Regions from separate parts of the Homo sapiens genome. Here region 1 is linked to region 2. The links are contacts of gene promoters, found by promoter capture Hi-C in blood cells and fetal thymus (Javierre and others, 2016). All regions are on one chromosome and are shown on one strand. The core of a region is centred on a gene start or on the middle of the fragment in contact, and the rest is flanking DNA. Distances in the headings are between cores, read along the strand shown. Region 1 overlaps NAV1 (neuron navigator 1). Region 2 holds the start of IPO9 (importin 9).

What was found. The method cuts DNA at HindIII sites, captures the fragments that hold promoters and counts their contacts. A CHiCAGO score of 5 or more calls a contact.
Region 1: a fragment that was not itself captured here is called in contact with the fragment with the promoter of IPO9 in region 2 in 2 of 17 cell types (endothelial precursors and M1 macrophages); the score reaches 5.3 in endothelial precursors.

What each region holds. Positions count from the first base shown.
Region 1 is chr1:201,595,078-201,598,315 of GRCh38, forward strand. The region is part of intron 2 of NAV1 (neuron navigator 1); the gene reads left to right. Among named protein-coding and RNA genes, the nearest start is that of NAV1, 58 kb to the left of the region's middle. The HindIII fragment of the contact is 2,865 bases long and covers 304-3,168 here.
Region 2 is chr1:201,827,577-201,830,534 of GRCh38, forward strand. It overlaps IPO9 (importin 9), which reads left to right and starts at 1,581. Exons shown (of 24, transcript NM_018085.5): 1 at 1,581-1,796. The coding sequence starts at 1,634. It overlaps IPO9-AS1 (IPO9 antisense RNA 1), which reads right to left and starts at 1,983. Exons shown (of 3, transcript NR_046696.1): 1 at 1,375-1,983. RefSeq lists enhancers at 180-694, 695-1,208, 1,365-1,659, 1,671-1,880 and a silencer at 1,381-1,620. The HindIII fragment of the contact is 2,219 bases long and covers 33-2,251 here.

The DNA.
Region 1 (3,238 bases), core at 486-2,985, 230 kb before region 2:
TATCCAAGCACACCTCCAAGGCTGAGAGTCTGGGCTGGTCCTGAGGCACTCCCACCACCAGTGGGACCCCAGTCCTTAGTACTGATAACCCAGGGAATCTCAGGCCGAGCTAAGGTGTCTGCCTCTGCTGCAAAGCCTGCTTATTTGGGTTCAATTTTGTCAGCTCTTCTGTGGGCCCTGACAGTGTGCTAGGCACAAGGATGTGTAAGGGTAGTAGTAGGCACCTCACCCTGACTCATGCTTAGAACTGAAGACTGCTTTGCTTCTCTTCCTTCATTCAACAAATCCCTTCCTTTCAACTAAAGCTTTCTCAATAAGCCAGATCTTCAGAGGCTCCAGCCAGCTCTCTCTTTCCCATTCTCTGGCTCAGTGGCTATCCTTTCTTCAAGTGCTTCCTGGAAGCCTCCTCCCTCCCCCAAGTGCCAAGGGGCGCCGAGTCTGTTTCTCACCTCTGCTCACCAGGTCCCTCCTCTCCAGGCCATACCAGGTTTCTGATCAATCCGAGGCAGGGACTGGGGGCATAGTGGGGCCAGGGTAGGGGCAGGCAGGCACAGCAGTGTGCACTGTCACAGCAAGTGGGCTGGGTCTGGGAATTTCAGTTGGGTTTAGAAGCTGGCCTCCAACATGGCCACTGTCTTCCAGCCAAGGGAAGGGAGAAGAAATTCCATCTCTCTGCCTCCTGGCCGAGTTGAAAGCAGATTTTCCTGTGCTGTCTCAGTCATCACTTACGTGTCCCCTGCAACCAAGGTGCCCTTCTTCTGCCTCTTCCACCAAGCCATGTCCTTCCTGATGCAGCATTCTCCTCCTCTAGGATGCTCATTAACTAACTGTGGTTAACTTCGCTTCGGGACTGCGTCCTCTTCAGTTATGTGCATCACTCATACCAGAGATGCTGTGGAGTCATGGTTTAGAATATCAGCTCTGGAGCCAGCAGCCTGGGCTTAAATCTTAGCGACCCCACGTCTTGATTGTGTGATTAAGGCAAGCGCCTTAACCTCACTGCATCTCAGTTTTCTCACCATAAAATGATAACAACAACATTATCTACCCAATGGGGTTTTGTGAAAATGAAATGAGTTGATACACATAAAATGCTGGAAGCAATGCCTGGCATGTGGTACGTGTCCATCAGTGTTTGCTGTTATTATTTCTCTCTTGAGCCTCTGTCCACCTGTAGACCCCATCTCTCCCATCAGGCTGGGAAATTGCCAAGGGCACCTTCGTGTATCTCTCATTAGTCCAAGGGCTTCCTGATGACAGGGACTCTCTTCCCTTCTTTGGGGTACCCTAACCCCAGCCCTGAGGTTAGCTCAAGTTAGCCCAGGGTTTTGGATGCACTGAAGAGGGAGCTTGGTCAAGCCAGTCCTGTTACTGGCTGGGCTCATGTGAAAGAACCACAGCAGCTCATGGGCTGGACTTTCAAAGAACTCCTCAGGACTTTTTGTTTGTTTGTTTGTTTATGGATCAGGAAAGGGCAGACACTGTCACTCTCTGGCTCTGTCTTTGGCCCAGACTTAGTGCCTGGTCATGAGATTCCCATTTCCATCATTCTCCAGTTACTTCCTGTGGCCACTTATTCCACCATATTTATTGAACATCTACTATATTTACAGGACTGCACTAGGTGTGGGAGATAGAGTGGTGAACGAAATATGGTCCCTGCCCCAACAGAGTTTCCAGCCCAATGGGAAGATGTTGGACAAGCAGGGCGGGTTGTTTTTTTAGTTTGTTTGTTTTTTGTTTGTTTGTTTGTTTGTTTGTTTCTGAGATGGAGTTTTGCTCTTGTTGCCCAGGCTGGAGTGCAATGGCGAAATCTCGGCTCACTGCAACCTCCGCCTCCTGGGTTCAAACAATTCTCCTGCCTCAGCCTCCTGAGTAGCTAAGATCACAGGTGCCCACCACCACACCCAGCTAATTTTTGTATTTTTAGTAGAGATGGAGTTTCATCATGTTGGCCAGGCTGGTCTCAAACTCCTAACCTCAAGTGATCCTCCTGCCTCGGCCTCCCAAAGTGCTGGGATTACAGACGTGAGCCACCGTGCCTGGCCTGGCAGGGTGGGTTTTAACAAGGGAGAAGCAACGAGAACATTGGTCTAGTCTAGGAGGTTAGGGAAATGGTCACTGAGGAAGCGATCTTGTGATGAGAAGTTAAGGACGAAGAGGAGAATCAGTGAAGGGGGTTGAGGAGAGGGAGCATTCTAGGTCTTCTGCAGTCCCATCTGGCTTCCCAGCCTTCACCCAGCTAAGGCACCCAGCATTTCTCAGGATTCACACACATTGGCCTTGGCCAAATACCCCCCTACACTCTCCTTCTTCCCCTCCGGCCTCACTCTGAAGACAGCTAAGCTGTCTTCCTGGGGGCTTCCTGGTCAAGGCTCACTGTGCAAACTACAGACTATCACATAATCTCCTAACATGCCCCTGGGGCCCGCTGGTTAAAGCCTGAGAAGAGGATCTGCAAAGATCCCTTCCCACAGGCTGCAGAGCCCGTGCTCCACCGGGCTGAGGGCCAAGCTGGGAGTCCATAAGGACCCCTTCCCACAGGCTGCAGAGCCCCTGCTCCACCAGGCTGAGGGCCAAGCTGGGAGGACCTGAGGCACAGGAGCCGGGTTTCCTCCCTCACACTCCTGCGGAAGCTCAGCCCCCATGCTCCACCTGCTTCCTGTTCCGCGGGGAAGATTTCCTGGTCTGTTTCCTTGGCAGCTGTGTCTCATTTCCTCCTGCTGTGCCCGTGATGTCCTGGCCCAGTGTGACGAGGTGAGGCAGGCCCCTCCCCTGTGAGGTGTGCCATCTCCTGCCCAACTCCATTGCCCCAGATTCCAGAGAGCAGAGTCGGGGAAGTAGGCCCCACCCACCTTGGCCAGGGAGCAAGGGGAGGGAGTTCAGCTGCAGGATGCCTGGGCGTCAAGATGTCGTCAATGCCTCCAATATATACTGAGTGTCTACTACGTGCCAGGCATGATACCAGGCGCCAGGTGGCCAAAGCTAAGTGTTCTTCAAGAAGGCAGCTTTGGAGATGAGCCAGGTATACCTGGTGACTGAGCAGCCAACGCTATGTACACAGTGCTCTGGCAGCTCAGGGCCACTTACAGAAGGTCAGAGAGGCCTTCCTGGAAGGGATGACGTCTGAGCTGAGCTTGGAGGATGAATAGAAATTAGCTAAGGATAAGCTTGAAACCTCGTGGTGTGTGGATAAATGATAAACTATTCAGTAAAACTTGAAGATAAAGAATGAGGC
Region 2 (2,958 bases), core at 331-2,830:
ACCCCCCCAACTCAAAAATAAATAATTGAGAAAGCTTTCTTTTGAAGTAATCTTCTGATGAGATGACTTAATCCCTGATTGTTACCAGTCCAGCATCCACAGTCTTGGAAGTGACCTAGGATTTGGTAACTCGTTTCCTTTGCCATGTGAGAATGAACTCACTTGATAAGGGTTCCTGGGAACCATTTTGAAGGCACATAACCTGAACAGCTCACTAAAAAATACCTGTTTCTGTTTGCTCTAGAACCTCCCATTCCAACAACATTCTATCCTTTCTGCCACTACATGCTTGCCACTCTGCCCTGCATTTTTTTTAATTTTTATTTTTTTTTATAGACAGAGTCTGTATATCTTGCCCAGACTGGAATGCAGTAGCTATTCATAGGTGTGATGACAGCACACTACAGCCTGGAACTCCTGGGCTCAAGTGATCCTCCTGCCTTGGCTTACATCTTGCTTTTTCTTCTTTTTCTGAGACAAGATGTCACTCTGTCGCCCAGGCTGGAGTGCAATGGCGCAATCACTGCTCACTGCAGCCTCCTCCTCCTGGGCTCAAGTGATCTTCCCACCTCCACCTCCCGAACAGCCGGGACTACAGGGCGTACGCCACCACGCCTGGGCAATTTTTGTATTTTTTTGTAGAGACGAAGTCTCGCTATGTTGCCCAGGCTGTTCTCGAAATCCTGGGCTCAAGCGATCCTCCTGCCTCGGCCTCCCAAAGTGCTAGGATTAGAGGCGTGAGCCACTGCGCCTCGCCACACCCTGCATTTTTAACACCTCACTGGAGCGCTCATCCTCTCCACCTGCTCCGCTATTCAGGAGCGGCTCTGCACCGTAGGCCATTTCCCACGACCAGCTGCTGACAACCATATCATCAAACTGCTCTTGTTCTCGCACCCCTTAAATGTCCAGCCATAATTTCTCAGGGAAAAAAATTTATACATTTTCAACAAATAGGATTCATTCTCAAATAGTCACATACAACACTCACTCTGGAAGAAACTCCCTTTCACATGCCGGTGTCTCCCCTGCCCAGCCACTTCCCAGCTTTGAGGTTGGGCTCATCTAGGCTGGAAAACCAAGGGACTGGGCCGTGGTTTTCCCACTTCCACTTCCCAGTTTGCTTTAGTTTATTTTCCCCCCTCTTTGGATTCCTGAGGCTAAGATGAAGAGAGTCACTTGAGCCAACTTTTTTTCAGTGTTTGGGGGGAAAAGAATGTGGTTTAAAATAGGGGCTATTTGTGACCCAGACCTCTCTCCTTAAAGCCCTCTACATCTATTCCCATCCCGCCTCCTCTCTCCTAACACCTGAAAGATGCATGAATATAAAGTCATATATCATGAACTTTATTCCAAATGAGATTGCTAACTTACTGTGCAACTTTAGGAAAGCCCCTTAACCTGTCTGGGGCTCAGTTTTCACACAAATCCAGAGATCCTTGCAGAGAAAGGTGCAGTTCTCGTTCAGGCAGCAGGAGGCGCTGTCTCTGGAGGCTTAGATTCATTCCCCGCCCTCCGCCCGCTCCCGCCCGCCTCTGGTGCGCAGGCGCGGCTTCGCGGATTGGCCGCGCGCGGGGGCCGTCATTCGGTGGCGGGTCCCGGCCGCGGGGCTGGCGGGCTGAGGGGAGAAAAGATGGCGGCGGCGGCGGCAGCTGGTGCGGCCTCCGGGCTGCCGGGTCCAGTGGCACAAGGATTAAAGGAAGCGTTAGTGGATACGCTCACCGGGATCCTATCCCCAGTACAGGAGGTGCGGGCGGCTGCTGAAGAACAGATTAAGGTGCTGGAGGTGACGGAGGGTGAGTGAGGCGGGACCGTCACGAGGATGGCTCAGCCGCACAATCCGCTGACCGCAGCTCCGTACCGGCTGGGGACATGGGGAGCCTGAGCCAGTTGGAGATGTGGGCGCCGAGAAGTGGAGCAGGAAGCGAGAGATTGATGTCGCTGGTGGTTGTGAAAGTCCGAGAGAGGAGAGGCGCGCCTGAAGGATAGGGTCGGGGGAGGTGGAGCCTGGGAGTGGGGGAGGGAGGGTGGAGACTTGAAAAGATAGATGGAGCCTAGAATCTGCAGGGGACGGAGATGGAGCTAGACTTGGTGCTGTTGGAGGAAGTAGCGCGGTCGGGGAAATATTTTTTGAGTCCAGGACCAAAGTCTTTCGCTGTTCTCTTCACCAGCTGGATTGTACTGGGATAAGAGTAGGGGGAGCTATTAGTAGGAGTGGTGAAGGGTAGGGCCTCGAAAAGGCGGCTATCAAAGCTTAATAGATGTCATCAAACAAGTTTCTGCCTCTGAGTTATAAACCTAGCTAGTTGTTTGTACTCTTCGTGTTTTCCCAGAAATTAAATGCATATGCGATTGCTTCACTGTCCTGACCATACTTAACGTTTATTTTAAAAATAATTTGCCCTTATTAAATACCTTTGTGCATTTCTGTTTGGAGGAACTGATCATCCTTTGTTTTTGATTCTTTGTCTCCGTCCTCTATTGTGTGCTTTAAAGTGATGGAGAAGAAAATAAACCATTGGTTCGAGATTTTCTATCAATTTCCTGCCGCGTGAGCCTTTCACCGGGTCCAGTGTAGCTACCACAAAGAACAATTTAATCCAGAAACAGGAGGAGAAATCTTCTTGGTCTTTGTGTAAGAAATATATCTGGTCAGAGCTTCACTGGAACTCCAAATCCTCAGAATCTCCCAACTCAGGAATATTTCCACCACCACTTAAATACTTCATCAGAGATATGGGAAATTGTCCCATCACACACCCATCATATTCAAAACCTTCAGTTAGCTCTCCTACTGGACGTATTTCTATTGAAAAGAATTTAGAACAAATCTCTCTTAAATTTAGTTTACATTCTTTCACAGTATGAAAGAGCTGTTGAAAACAAATTTTCTTCTGTTGGAAATATGTTAAGATTTGGGATCTAACAGGCTAAGGACCATTTTGAAGGCCCACTTGT